2 separate regions of the Homo sapiens genome follow, and region 2 is linked to region 1. Evidence: promoter capture Hi-C in 16 types of primary human blood cells and fetal thymus (Javierre and others, 2016). All regions are on one chromosome and are shown on one strand. The core of a region is centred on a gene start or on the middle of the fragment in contact, and the rest is flanking DNA. Distances in the headings are between cores, read along the strand shown.

Region 1 (7,312 bases), core at 4,388-6,887:
AGGAGGCTAAGGCGGGTGGATGGCTTGAGCCCAGGAGGTCAAGGCTATGGTGAGCCTAGATCATGCCACTGCACTCTAGCCTGGGTGACAGAACCAGACCATGTTACAAAAAAACAAAACAAAACAAAACAAAACAAAACCAACAACAAAAACAGACTGGGTCCACAGTGAACACCCAGACTGATGAACCATCAAGTAAGTGATGCTGAAACCTTTATCTCAATGACAAATTCAACTCCTACCAGGCCAAGCCTTATTCCAGAAGTAGGGATTGCCTGAACAATGTGGCTTATGAGGTGTCAAAAGAACCCCAGAGGTCCTAAACATCTTCCCCACCAGCCTGCCAAGGTGCTTAAAGACCACTCTATATATGTATCTGCATTAAGACCTTTTCTGTTAAAATACAACACTCCTTTTCTCCCTCCTTCCTAAGAGCCAGTACATTACGCAATTCTCAGGGGTTAGCACAGCTTCAGGTAATTTATCAACTATTTTTTATATCTGATGCATTTCACCTAGACTATTTGGGTAAGCTGTGATAGAGTTAAATAAAGGTAAATTTCCAGGAGAAGAGGATGGGCCTGAATGTCTGAGGTAAGAGATAGAGAGTAGGCAGTATAGCACAGTAGTTAAGTGTGAGACCTTATGATCTGGGCCCAAATCCAGTTTCGCTGCTGGCTAGGTGAGTGACCTTGGCTAGTCACTTACCTTCCATGCCTCCATTTCTTCATTTAGATAGAAAATGGTGTTACTCAGGAAAGGGAACATCACACACTGGGGCCTGTTGTGGGGTCAGGGGAGAGGGGAGGGATAGCATTAGGAGATATACCTAATGTTAAATGATGAGTTAATGGGTGCAGCACACTAACATGGCACATGTATACATATGTAACAAACCTGCACGTTGTGCACATGTACCCTAAAACTTAAAGTATAATAAAAATAAATAAATAAAATTTAAAAAAAAAGAAAAAAAAAAGAAAATGGTGTTACCAAGATGACCTGCTTCAATGGGGCATCTGAGAATTAAACAAATCAATATATAGAAGGCATTTAAAATGATGCCCAACCTATGTGAACCCTATATAATGTGTTAATTTCTGACTAATTTATTAGAGGGGATGACATGAGATTTGGCCCTGAAAGGAGCTGCTCTGGCTTTACTACTTGCTGCCTCCTTTCCCAATTTACTGAGAAGCAGGCAAGGTCCCGAGAGGATGAGCAGCGTCCCCAAGGCCACAGCCTACTGATGGCAGAGCCAGGACTTCCTATCCAGGGCTCCCCACACGCGGAACTTCTCGAGGAGGAAGAGGGGAAGGGGTCGTGGGAGGCCAGGAGAAACCGAGAGCCAGCTTTACCATGTGTCCCTTCTGGGGATAATGGAATCCAGGCCCTTCGGGGCTTTTCCCCAGAGCTGGCTACACGTCCCGCTCTCGGGTGCGCTTGGTGTCCACGCAAACGCCATCCTCCGAACATCCCCCCGCCCACACACACACATACACACACAGCCCCACACCCTTGCGCCGGACGCACCCTCTACGTCTGGCACAGCACGGCAACTCGCTGCCCCGCTGGGAGGACTAGTCAACAGGGGGGCGGACGGGAAAAGTGACACAACTGGGCCGCGGCGCCCTCCGCGCCAGCCTCCCACGCAGCGCAGGGCGGACTTCGGCCCTCAGAGGGGTGAGGACTGGGGCCAAACTGCCCGGGTCTACCCCGCCGCCCGCAACGCTCCGGGGTCCCGCGCGGAGGGAGGCCTGGGCGCGGGCCGCCGCGGCGCACTTTTCAGGAACGCGGCGGCCGCAAGCCTGCCAGGCCGGGTCGCAGGACAGCCGCCGCCGCCGCCACCGCCACCGCCACCGCCCCCCGAAGCTAGATGACGGAGTCTTGAAAGACTTTCACCAAATATGGGCCGGGGCTGGAAACGTCCTGCGCCGCGCGCCGCCGGAAACCTCGATTCTTGGCAACCGCGGTGACTGTGGGCGCGCGGGCGGGGTGGCCGGCAGGGGGCGGCGGTAGCAGCCGGGCAGGCGCGTCCGGATGCCTCGCGTCCCGCACCCTCTCGCGGTGCGGACCCTCTCCGCTCCCTCCGCAGGGGTCCCGGAGCCGACCGCCCTCTCCGCGCGTCGGCCACCCAGTTCCTGCCGCAGCCACCAGGATCCTGGCTTCCTGGGGCTCTCCTGGCTGTCAAGCCAAGGGGATGGGGGCGGGGAAATGGTAGAGGAGAGAAATGGGATGGTACGGGGGCGCCACCTTAAAGCCGGTCTTTTGCAGACACCATTAAGTTCTGTTCATTAAGGTGGCTTTGAAGAGTGGAGTTGTGAGGTTGGGTGTGCAGCCGAGGATCTATGAAGACACACACACACACCCCTACTACAGGCACTCCGGTCGTCCAGGGCAGTGGTGCTCAGGGTGTGATCTCCGGACCAGCAGCATCAACATCACCTGGGGACTTGTTAGAAATGTAACTAATCAGAAACTCTGGGGTGGGAACCCAGAGAACCATTCATTAACTAGCCCTCCAGGCGACTCGGATGCACGCTAGTCTGAGAGCCTTCCTAGGGCTAGGAAACTGGAGTCGCCAGATTTACCGTTATTATTCTCGGTTGCCGCCAGACAGTGAGCCCTTCATTAGGTAACCTAAAATTCCCTGGCAGCAGCGGTTGAGAGACGTCCCCATCTCTCAGCCCGAAGCCAGGAGCTGCAGAAGACAAGTAGCCCCTTCTCCGTGGATTGCAATCCAAGGCAGCCCAAGGAAACAAGGCAGTCCGTTATTTCCTCCTGGGGCACCCGTATGGGGAGGGTGAAGGAGAAACTAGCAAAAGAGCCATACAGAATTAGCACCCGAAGCAACACTTACCCATAAACATTTGCACATTTCGCCTCCTGTCCGTCAACTTGGACTGATCTGCGGCTCCCAGCGGAGGCGGCGAGAAGGCGACGGGAGGCTGGGGTTTCTGGACGGTCTTTGGGCAGGACTTGAGGAGCCGCTGTTTCTCTTGCCTAATGTCGTCGATTACTAGCAGGCGCAACAGCACATGGTATATGGAGAGGCTGTGCACATAGGTTACTCTAGTGTCTCCCGCTCCCACACCTCCTGGCCCTGTTGCTCCAGCTTCCCACCCCCATCCCACAACACACCCCCTGCTTTAAATGGGCAGCTGACGGTAAGGTTCTCTAAATTTCTCTTCTGGGGCAAACTCATCCTCAAGATTCCCCAGTTGAAGTCCAGAAACAAACCCACACACCCTTGTTAAAAAAACTTTAATGTGATTTTAAAGGAATCTCTGGAATGGCGTGTGTTTGAACGCAGTGCGGCAGACTGGATCTCTGCCGTCCCCCATCCCCAACCTCCAATTAAGGTATATACGGCCAGTTGGATGATCCACTGTGCTTTTATTTTAAATCATGATGGACAGATTGCGTGAAAAACAAGGAATTCCAAAGAATTTCCTGCTCTGGGAAGAGAAGTTAAATCTATATTTAACAACATTTGAAGCTGTCAAGAATGCTTTGTGGTTGGATAACAGAGGCAGAAAAATGTTAAAAACGCAGGCTACTGCTATACCCAAATATGGAAATATTGTTACGTCTGGTGTCTGATTCACCATCTGGAAATACTTACAACCATGAAGTCAAATAGAAAAGACGCCACAACAGAAGCCAGGAACCCTCCTCTCCATTCTCTCTCTAGTTCAACCAGTACTGTCCCTGCACCCCTCCTCCCCCCTCCCGCCCCCCGTCACTTCATTAAGAAGGAAACAATAATGAAATGATAAGGCAGGAAAAACAGTGTTTTGTAAATAATAATTGATGTATTAACCTGTGTACGTGTTGGGCCCACACTTTCCTCACTGTATTTGCATAACACCTGACAATCCATTGTCTTGAAAAGTCTCCCACCCCTAACCCTCTAACAGAGCTTTAGAGATCCCACTCCCTCTAGCAAATGCTGCTTCCATTTATGAAAGGGCACTTTGGAATGAATGAAACTGAACTCCTTCCTGCAAGAATTCTCTTCACTGGAGTGTGTTTTCATCCTGACAGATTCTCATTGTGCTTATCAGGAAAGTCAGCATTAGCACTAAGGGCCTTTTCAAGCAAGACTGCTAAATTATGAAGTCTGAATAGCCTTAAACATTAAAAAGGATAAGTAGTTATCCTAGAGCATATGAGTCTTACATGATAATTTTTATTAAAATTATGCAAAAAGTTTTTGAAACTTGCAGGGAAAGTTTATCAATCACACTAATGGTATTGGTGATGTTCAAGTAAATTGTCTTGTGGTGGGGTCTTCTACTGAGTGTGTTGCAAGTAGAACGGGATCTTAAAATCTGCTGACATTTTTACTGCAAAATATTACATCCTAAATCTCTTTTCTGTACTTGGAGAGAAGGGCATTGCAATTCATTTAAAATGGGAGGCTTCCAGTGGTCCCTAGGAAAGGAGTTAAAAACCCCACAAAATGTCCAGCTTGAAGGAGTCTGCTTTTCCCAGAGATTCATAGGGCACAATGGTCCTGGAATCTGGTTTGGCCTTGCGGTCTTTGCAGGTGATGATTTCAGGCCACTCCACGGTGGTCTCCTGCACTTCTGGCTGGCTGCTTGGTTAGCATAGCCTCCTGCCCGCGGAGGGAGGCGGGAAGGGCTTACCCCGTCTCCTGCATCCGTGAGGAAGTATAAGTCAGCCTCCCGGAGAACTCCCCGCGTTCGTTTCCTCTCGGACTTCCAACCCAGGCAGTGGGCTGGAACTAAAGTGGGAACCTCCAAAAACAAACAAGTACAACATACCCAAAAGAGGGAAGGGCTGGAGGAGTGGGGGAGACCTCTGCCTGGGAATTTGCCAGACGATGGGCAAGTTTCCCCCCGCCCCACCCCCCCCCCGCCTTTTCATTCATAAATGCCACTGTGGGTATTAATTTGCAATTCACTGAACTTTGCTAATAAACATCATGCCAAAGCTTTGGGACTTGTTCCGAACACGCCTCTTTGAAGTCCACAAATATTCCTGACTCAGAGACACACTCCTCTTCCCCGTTCTACTCTTTCAACAGATAACTTGCCTCTCACCTTCGCTGTAAAAAAGCAAACAGCTCACTGCCTTCCCGGGTGAGGGCTTCAGTGGCTGCCCGGTCAACTCGCATCACCAAACAAAACGACTTTTGTTCCTCCCTCTCAGGTCCTCCCACCCACCCAGTCCAGGCAAAGTTCTGAACTGGCCCCCCTCGCCCCTCACGACCCTCCAACTACCATCACCACCATCACGCCCCAAAGAACCCTTCCCAACATAAGTCGTAATTTAAGGTGGAAAAAACGAACTGTTTTCTTGACGGGTCTGGGACACACACACACACACACACACACACACACACACCCCCCGAACTGTTTTCTTGACGGGTCTGGGAGACAGACACACACACAGACACACACACACACACACACACACACACACACACACACACACACACACACACACAAAGGTGCAATGGAGCCAGGGGAGGCGCTTGGCAGCAGCCCGCGCCAACCAGCATTCCTGAGATGTTTGAGAATTCTGGAACGCGCAGACAGAGCCGACGTCACTGCAACACGCGGCGCCTCCGCCGGCCCGTATAAAAGGCGGGCTCCGGGGCGCCTGGGCAGACCGCGAGCGAGAGCGCCCCCGAGCAGCGCCCGCGCCCTCCGCGCCTTCTCCGCCGGGACCTCGAGCGAAAGACGCCCGCCCGCCGCCCAGCCCTCGCCTCCCTGCCCACCGGGCCCACCGCGCCGCCACCCCGACCCCGCTGCGCACGGCCTGTCCGCTGCACACCAGCTTGTTGGCGTCTTCGTCGCCGCGCTCGCCCCGGGCTACTCCTGCGCGCCACAATGAGCTCCCGCATCGCCAGGGCGCTCGCCTTAGTCGTCACCCTTCTCCACTTGACCAGGCTGGTGAGTTGGACTCTCCTTTTGCCACCTATTCCCCGTCCGCTCTCCAGCCCCTTCCCCTGGTCCCAGATTGCCCACGGCAGGAAAAGTTAAAAAGTTCGCGATCGTTTGCGGGTAGCCGTTTCTTTAAGCACTCTCCCCCTCCCCCCGAAGACGTGTCGGGACCTCTTGGTGGGAGCAGCCTTCCGAGGTGGCCGGGCTGGACGAGATCAGAGGCTCCCCGTCGATAGGGTCGGAGACCCCCGTCCCTCACTGCGGCAGCCGCGGCGCCCCTCCTGCGCACCGCGCCGAGTCTCACGCGTATCTTCTCCCCCTTCCAGGCGCTCTCCACCTGCCCCGCTGCCTGCCACTGCCCCCTGGAGGCGCCCAAGTGCGCGCCGGGAGTCGGGCTGGTCCGGGACGGCTGCGGCTGCTGTAAGGTCTGCGCCAAGCAGCTCAACGAGGACTGCAGCAAAACGCAGCCCTGCGACCACACCAAGGGGCTGGAATGCAACTTCGGCGCCAGCTCCACCGCTCTGAAGGGGATCTGCAGAGGTAAGATGCTTGTGGTTTGGCCCCTTTAAAAAAAATACTAGTCCCCATAGTCCAGAAGTTTAGTAATTCTGAGACCATGTATGGTGATGCTTTGTTGTTGGTAGCTTGGCAGAAAGGCACATGATTTCAGCAGTCTGGAATGCAATTCAGTGTGTCTGGGCCCAACGAAAGCGCATACGGAAAAGTGATTCCTGACTAACTTATTGTTCTGGTCTGGAGTCTCCGGGGAATTGTAGGGAACTTTACCATAAATTGAATTTAACAGCAGAAAATATGTATGAGTTTCAGGCGGTGGTTTGGAATCTTAACTTTATCCCCTTCTACCTTTCTCTTTTGGTGATCTTTGCAGCTCAGTCAGAGGGCAGACCCTGTGAATATAACTCCAGAATCTACCAAAACGGGGAAAGTTTCCAGCCCAACTGTAAACATCAGTGCACATGTATTGATGGCGCCGTGGGCTGCATTCCTCTGTGTCCCCAAGAACTATCTCTCCCCAACTTGGGCTGTCCCAACCCTCGGCTGGTCAAAGTTACCGGGCAGTGCTGCGAGGAGTGGGTCTGTGACGAGGATAGTATCAAGGACCCCATGGAGGACCAGGACGGCCTCCTTGGCAAGGAGCTGGGATTCGATGCCTCCGAGGTGGAGTTGACGAGAAACAATGAATTGATTGCAGTTGGAAAAGGCAGCTCACTGAAGCGGCTCCCTGGTAAGTGGAGACTGAGCACTTCAGACACTGTACTGAGATGCATTTCTGGTCTAAATCTTTGTAGAAATGAGTGCTTGAGCCTGTTTGTGTCGGTATGCCTCTGAGAAGTCTTCCCTCTTATATGTCTCTAGTTTTTGGAATGGAGCCTCGC
Region 2 (7,101 bases), core at 335-2,834, 1.6 Mb before region 1:
CAGGCCTTATTTTTACCCTTATCATAATCACCTGCCAAAAAGATGGTTTTCTTCTATCTTGTTCACTCCTCCATTCCCAGGTCCTAGAATAGTGCCTGACCATAGTGTTCAATAAGCACTTGTTAATGTGTGCTATGGTTTGAATATTTGTGTCCCTCCAAAATTCATGTTGAAACATAGTCCCCAATGAAACAGTATGATGAGGTAGGACCTTTAGAAGGTGATTGGGTCCTGAGGGCTCCTTCCTCATGAATGGGAAGGACTTTATAATCAAGGCTTCACACAACCTTTCCATCCCTTCCACCATGAGAACACAGCATCCATCTCCTTCAGAAGGTGCAGCAACAAAGTACCATCTTAAAAGCAGAAACAGCAGCCCTCACCGTCAATAAACCTGCCACCACCTTGATGTGGACTTCCCAGCCTTCAGAAATTTGAGAAATAAATTTCTATTGTTTATAAGTTATCCAATTTGTGGCGTTTTGTTATAGCAGCACACACGGGCTAAGACACTGAGTTAATAAATCGGTTAATTAGCCAGGCACCATGGCTCATGCCTATAAATAATCCCAATACTTTGGGAGGCCTAGGCAGGAGGATCACTTGAGACCAGGAGTTTGAGACCAGCCTGAGCAACATCTCCACAAAAATTTAAAAATTAGCCAGGCATGGTGGTGCCTGCCTGTAGTCCCAGATACCTGGGTGGCTAAGAAGGAATGATAGCTTGAGCTAGGGAGGTCAAGGCTGCAGTGAGCTGTGTTCATGCCACTGCACTACAGCCTGGCAGCAGAGCGTGTCTTAAAAAACAAACAACCAATCAATTCATGAGAGCTGAGAGAAAAGAGAAATAGTCATCAAGCTCTGAGAAGCAAATACATGTAATTTACAATATATTACTTTTCACTTTAAAAAAATTTTATTTATGTATTTTGTTTTATTCATTTATATTGTTTTTTAGAGACAATCATAGCTCACCGTAATCTTGAACTCTTGGGCTCCACAATCCTCCTGCTTCAACCTCCCAAGTAGCTGGGACTACAGGTGTACACCACCACAACAGGCTTTTATTATTATTTTTATTTATTTATTTATGTATTTATTTATTTATTATTTTAGAGATGGGGTCTCACTATGTTGACCAGGCTGGTCTCAAACTCCTAGCCTCAAGTTATCCTTTCGCCTCAGCCTTCCAAAGTGCTGAGATTACAGGCATGAGCTACTGCACCTAGCCCACTTTTTTTTTTTTTTTTTGACACGAAGTTTTGCTCTTACTGCCCAGGCTGGAGTGCAATGGCACAATCTTGGCTCACTGCAACCTCCGCCTCCCGGGTTCAAGTGATTCGCCTGCCTCAGCCTCCCAAGTAGCTGGGATTACAGGCATGCGCCACCACACCTGGCTAATTGTTTTGTATTTTTAGTAGAGACGAGGTTTCTCCATGTTGGTCAGGCTGGTCTCGAACTCCCGACCTCAGGTGATCCGCCTACCTCGGCCTCCCAAAGTGCTGCGATTGCAGGCGTGAGCCACTGTGCCCAGCCCTAACCCACATTTTTAAGTGGAAAAAGCAAAGTACATAGAAGTTTACATATTACACTGCCACTTGAGCAAACCAACAGAGGAATATATGGAACATATCCACTGAGCAGTTGTGGCCTGCTATGGCTAGGGGTGGGGCTAAGGGAGACTTACTTGTACTTACCTTTAGTACTCTGTATATGTATTACCTGTTCAAAAAAGTAAAATATATGTGATAAAATTTTGTATCAATATAATCATGTTGATAACCAAAATCATCAAACTGTGTTCTCCATTTAAGTGAAAATACCTTTATTTCATTTAAATGAAAGTATAATATGGTAGAAAGAGCACTGAACAAGGAGTCAAATCAAATTCCTATCCTTTAATTTTCCACTTAGCAGATATAAATTCTTAGGCTGCAAAAGTAAAAGATTTATTCTTTCCACCCCTAAAGTCTAAAATGGCAACCAATGAAGATAACATTGCTGATATATTTTATGGCAAAAGATGAAGACAAACTTCTTTTATGTAAAAGAAGGAAACACAAAGAAAACTCAGACCTTCTCCAGCAACCCTCAATCCATACCCCAGTAAACATAATATATGAGGTCTTTGTACATTAATTTTTAGCTCACCCAAAGATTACTAAAATAATCAAACAAAAAGTCAAGAGGATCCAAAAATAGGGTTAAGTTAAAAATATGTAAAATAATATTAAATAAAAACATAATAAGAGCTGTTTTGTTGTGACAAGAGGAAGGAGAAAAGAACCAGTACAAACCAGTATCTACTTTCACATAACTTTATTTAGTCCACCCAACAAATACCCAGTACCTTTTATTCCCATTTTATATATGGGAAAATGTAGGCTCCAAGGTTAAGAAACTTGCACAAAGTCACACATCTAATAGGTTGAAGTGGTTTGTGGCTTCTACCTATTAGAAGAAGTATGGGAAGGAAACCCATATTCCTTCCCACTTTTTGTGCTACCTTCAAAATTCAGCCTTTAAATATAACATATTGAAGATTTCGCAAAGATGCTTGATTTTGTTCGACTGAATCTACGTTAAAAGCTGGAGCCCAAGGACATAGTGAGAAGGCAGTCCTCTGAAAGCCAGGAAGATAGCCCTCACCAGGAACCTAATTGTCTTGAGCCTTTTTTATCTTAGACTTCCCAGCCTCCAGAACTGTGAGAAATAAATATCTATTGTTTAAGCTACCTAGTCTATTATACTTTATTATAGCAGCCTGAGCAGACTAAGACATTGAGTCCAGTCTGCCCCTGGCTTCACAGAGTAGATAATTAAACTCTATCCTGAGCTTGCTATGGATTGTAACAATGATAATGAGGAAGAGCAAGAAGACAACAAAGAGGAAGAGAAGGATGGGGTTGATATCATCACTTATGTAAAACATCCTATGTGCCAGGCACTTTTTGAGGTTTATACATATAAAACTCTGACCTTCAAAACCCTAAAAGATAGATTATTATCCTCATTGATAATCGTTTAAAGAAAAGAGATATAATGAACAATGATATTGAAAAACAAGTTATAAGAAAATTTTAAAGTAACAATTTTGCAAATATGTCTCAAGATAATCTTCTCCAGATCCCTAAATTGTAATTATCGGATGAAAGACATTTCTACTATCACTTCCAAAAAAAAGAGAAAAATAACAAATGTAACAAAAAATATATCCAAGTAAGCTTTTACTTTGAGGCAAAAACACTCTCCACACACATTAACATTATTTGCAGAGAGGTCATTACAATTAACAGTCAGAAATCTATTACTTCCTAAAAATTATAAAAATAAGGCAGTTGTATATGCAAAAAGTAGTATTTCCAAATATCAGGTCATGAATGAAATTTTGTCCATTTTTGTATTATTAATTTCATTAAATTTCAGCACTTGGTTCCCAAACCAAATTTGATATATGCTTTCTCTTATATGAAATCATGCTTTTTCTCATATGAAAGAGAATAAAAGTAAATGAAACATGCCACTTTTAAACATCAAAATTTAAAATGCTTATTTGTTTTGAATATTATTCAGATTGGATTTAATGTCAGTTCTACATTAGTGTTTCTTAAATTGTAATGTGCACACCTGGGACTACTGTTCAAGTTCAGATTCTGACTCATTAGGTCTGAGGTAGAGCCTGAGAGTCTGCATTTCTGACAAGCTCCTAGGTATGCTGGTTCACAGACCACACTTTGAGTAGCAAGGCTCTGGATGACCACAATGTTTATCATTATGCAGATACAAATTTTTGAACTTAAAGCCCTTCTTTAAAACATGTAAAACTTAGGAAATTATAACATGATTGAAAAATTCATGTAGGTGATTGTGAAATTATATATTAATGTCTAAAGAGTTCCATGAGTCAAAAAATAAAATAGGTTTGGAAATGCTGAACTTGAGCATCAGTATCATCTGCAAACTTCTTAGAAATGCATATTCTCAGGCCCAACCCCAGAACTTCTGAATCAGAAATATAGAGGTGAGGCCCATCAATTAACAAGTCCTCCAAGTGAATCTGATGCAGGCTAAAGCTCTGAGAACCACTGCACTAGAAGGCCAACAGCTGGTGGCCAGGGCAGATCCAGGAAAGTGGGAGAACACCACTGCTGGAGTCTATTCCCTCCTATTGGTCTTTTGAAGCACAGCAATGTGGGTGACTTAGAAATCACCTGGCCAAGTAATGACTGGAGGAGAAAGCATTTGCCCAGCAGGACTCTCACTTTTTTTTCATAATCTGCTTTGGAAAGCATCTGGAAAAGAAGAAGTTTGCTACAAAAGATCTCACTTGCTACTGCCAACAGCTCTGGTAAGTGGGATGAAGTTTGCTAATCTAGACAGTTTACCCCCCTTGTTTGACCCCAAACCAGCTACCGATGCTCACTAACCAACACACTCATTTTGTAGAAAAGAAATCCACCAAAAATAATTAAACTTATAAGGATTAACAACAACCACAAAGATTAATAATACAACCTCTATGGATAGTAAAAAAATTGTAGAGGGAAGGGAAAGGAGGAATGCAAATCAACACCAACAAGGGAGTGAAGACACTGCAATACACTCATACAATGAAAATACTATACATCAGTGATACATGCTGCATCACAAAATGAAGATTTAAAACAGCTGATGAATACATACAGTATATTATTTACATAAAGTTTAAAATTATACAAAATAATATATTTCTTATAAATTATGAAATAAGCATATAAAGAAATACATAGGAATGATAAACACCAAGTCTGATACCCCTTGAGAGGAAGGATGATGCAATAGGCAGTTCTACAGAGAGTGAGCACCTGTGTTCTTATGCAAAGAATGTAATTCTTAATATAAAGAATAAATACGCAATTATCATGGTTTAGGCATTTGAAATAAGAGGTAGAAATGAAATAACCACAATACTTTTGCTTGAATCATTATGTGTCTTTTTGTAAGTATTGTGATATAAATCATACTGCTGAAACTTAGGTCTGATCCTGACTCATAAGCAATGTGAAGTCACTGAAGGACTCTAAGAGGAGTAATATAATCCAGATTTATTTTTGATAGATTACACTGGCAGTTATTGTGGGGGCAGTAGTGGAGACAATCTTAAGAGGATATTACAAAAGTCCAAGAGAGAGAAGATAAGAGCTTGATTACAGATAAAAGCAACAGACATAAGGAGACAGAATTCTGCTATTGCAGTATTAGCAGAATAGCAGCAGGACTTGGTGACTGATAAGGAAAATGTAATCCTGGATGATTTTGCAGATTTCTAGCTTAAAGAATTGGGTAGAAGATGGCACAATTCATCAAGAGAAGGCTTGCAGACAGAAGAGCCAGTTTGAGGGGTGAGATTATTTCAGCTTTGTATTTGCAATAAGGGTGGATGAAAATAAACAGAAAATAAGACAATAGAATTAGTGGAGATAAGAGATAAGGGAATCCTCTACTTTTATAGGTAAAATGGTGTTAATTAAACACAAAGGTCCCTTCCAAAGCATAACTGCTCCTATTTCTGTCCTTTCTGCCAAGAAAGGACAATAGGTTTCAAAATGCACAGCTGCATGACTGGTATACAAATGACATCACCCAAACAACTCTCATAACAATAAAACATTGCCACCACTCATTGTGTGTACAAATTGAAAGGGTATTTAGAGAAGCTACTTACTCCTTGAACATAGTAACTTTTGTCTCCCTTTCCCTGGCTGGGCCCATTACCCAAAGCTGGATCTGTCCTGTGTTCTAGACCTGAAAGAACCATTTGATCAACTACTTCTAAAAACCTGATAACAGCCAAGTATGATATTATGTAAGAATAAACACAAGAACTATTTATTCATTCTAGTAACAATCTTGACCTTGAGCAACAGTAACTCCCACTAATGCACTTAATACTTATTTATTGTTCCAATTGGCTGTAGCCTATTCCCAGAGCCTGGAACATAGGAGTTAAACTGCTGAGCTACCATATCAGGGAAATATAGTTCTCTGGAAGGTTTTTTTGAATTTAAAATAAAAAAATTTCAACTGTGCTAATTTCTAGAATCAAACAAATTTGTCACAATTTTCAAATCCCTCTAAATTAAATTTAATCCCATAAAAATTAAGCCATGGTCCAAGAATTATGCAAAGTTGGGAAAAGCCATATGGAAAAAGGCAAATGTATAGTATGTGTAATTAGAGCAACCACACAAATGTCTACAAAACTCTGTGGCCTGTCTAGTCTTTGGAATTTAGCCTATTATGACATGAAAAAGCAGGAACTGATAAACGGGTAATGATAACACAGCATACCTTCAAGGCATTTTCTCTTATTAATATTTGTATTTCCAGTACCGAGGATAATGAAAAAGGAGAAAATCTTACTCAATAAGTGGTGAATTAAATAAAGTTCAAAGCAAATAACAGCTATAACTCGGTTACTAAGGTGACAGAAGACAAGGTTATTTCATAACATATTCATCAAGCACTTAAGTAGAATCAAAAGCCTCTTTGGGCATATTTCTCCTACAACATAATATTTCAGTTTTAAGTAGTTCTCCAGTAGCCTAAAACTCTTATTTGCTCCCTATGAATAATATGTGACGTAATCAGTTAACTTTTGCATATCTCACTCACATTTGTCAATCCATTTACCTCTCCCATTTCCTGACCCTGCAAAGAACTATACCAAACCTAAGAGAGTTGAACTTCATATCCCCAAAACACCCAACCTGTGCTTGACTATGCAAAGACTTCTCTTGTTCTGAGCTGTGGAGTTGAAACTTAGGGTCTGTTGTACTTAAGTCTCCTGAGATTTCAATAACTTTGATCACAAGGTTTAAAAGAGAGGGACTAGGGGAAGCAGAGAATTTCTAAAATAGTCAGTTCATTCTTTGCCAAAAAATGCACAATAGCTATCAAAATGTGCAGCTGCTTAGCTGGTGAACAAATGACATCACCCAAATGTCATCTGATGCCAGCATTTATAGTTTTTAGTGTCCAAAACTTAACTCTTTAACTTTCCCTGAAAACTTGATATTCCTCTTATGTTCCATATCTTGGTAAAGGGTATCACTAATAGCC

Evidence for each region. Contacts are between HindIII fragments. The CHiCAGO score rates a contact against its expected background, and 5 or more counts as called.
Region 2: a contact is called between a fragment that was not itself captured here and the fragment with the promoter of CCN1 in region 1, in 1 of 17 cell types (activated CD4 T cells). The highest score is 6.5, in activated CD4 T cells.

Annotation. Positions count from the first base shown.
Region 1 is chr1:85,575,124-85,582,435 of GRCh38, forward strand. CCN1 (cellular communication network factor 1) reads left to right here and starts at 5,638. Exons shown (of 5, transcript NM_001554.5): 1 at 5,638-5,924; 2 at 6,242-6,455; 3 at 6,805-7,161; 4 at 7,293-7,312. The coding sequence starts at 5,862. LOC124904208 (a long non-coding RNA gene) reads right to left here and starts at 1,923. Exons shown (of 2, transcript XR_007066201.1): 1 at 1,903-1,923; 2 at 1-781. It also overlaps a transcript of DDAH1 not described here. RefSeq lists silencers at 1,677-1,876, 5,619-5,748, 6,179-6,238, 6,249-6,298, 6,309-6,358 and 1 more and enhancers at 2,747-2,806, 5,206-5,728, 5,459-5,508, 6,775-7,296. The HindIII fragment of the contact is 3,344 bases long and covers 4,959-7,312 here.
Region 2 is chr1:83,955,194-83,962,294 of GRCh38, forward strand. All of the region lies in intron 1 of TTLL7 (tubulin tyrosine ligase like 7), which reads right to left. Among named protein-coding and RNA genes, the nearest start is that of TTLL7-IT1, 26 kb to the right of the region's middle. The HindIII fragment of the contact is 3,276 bases long and covers 1-3,222 here.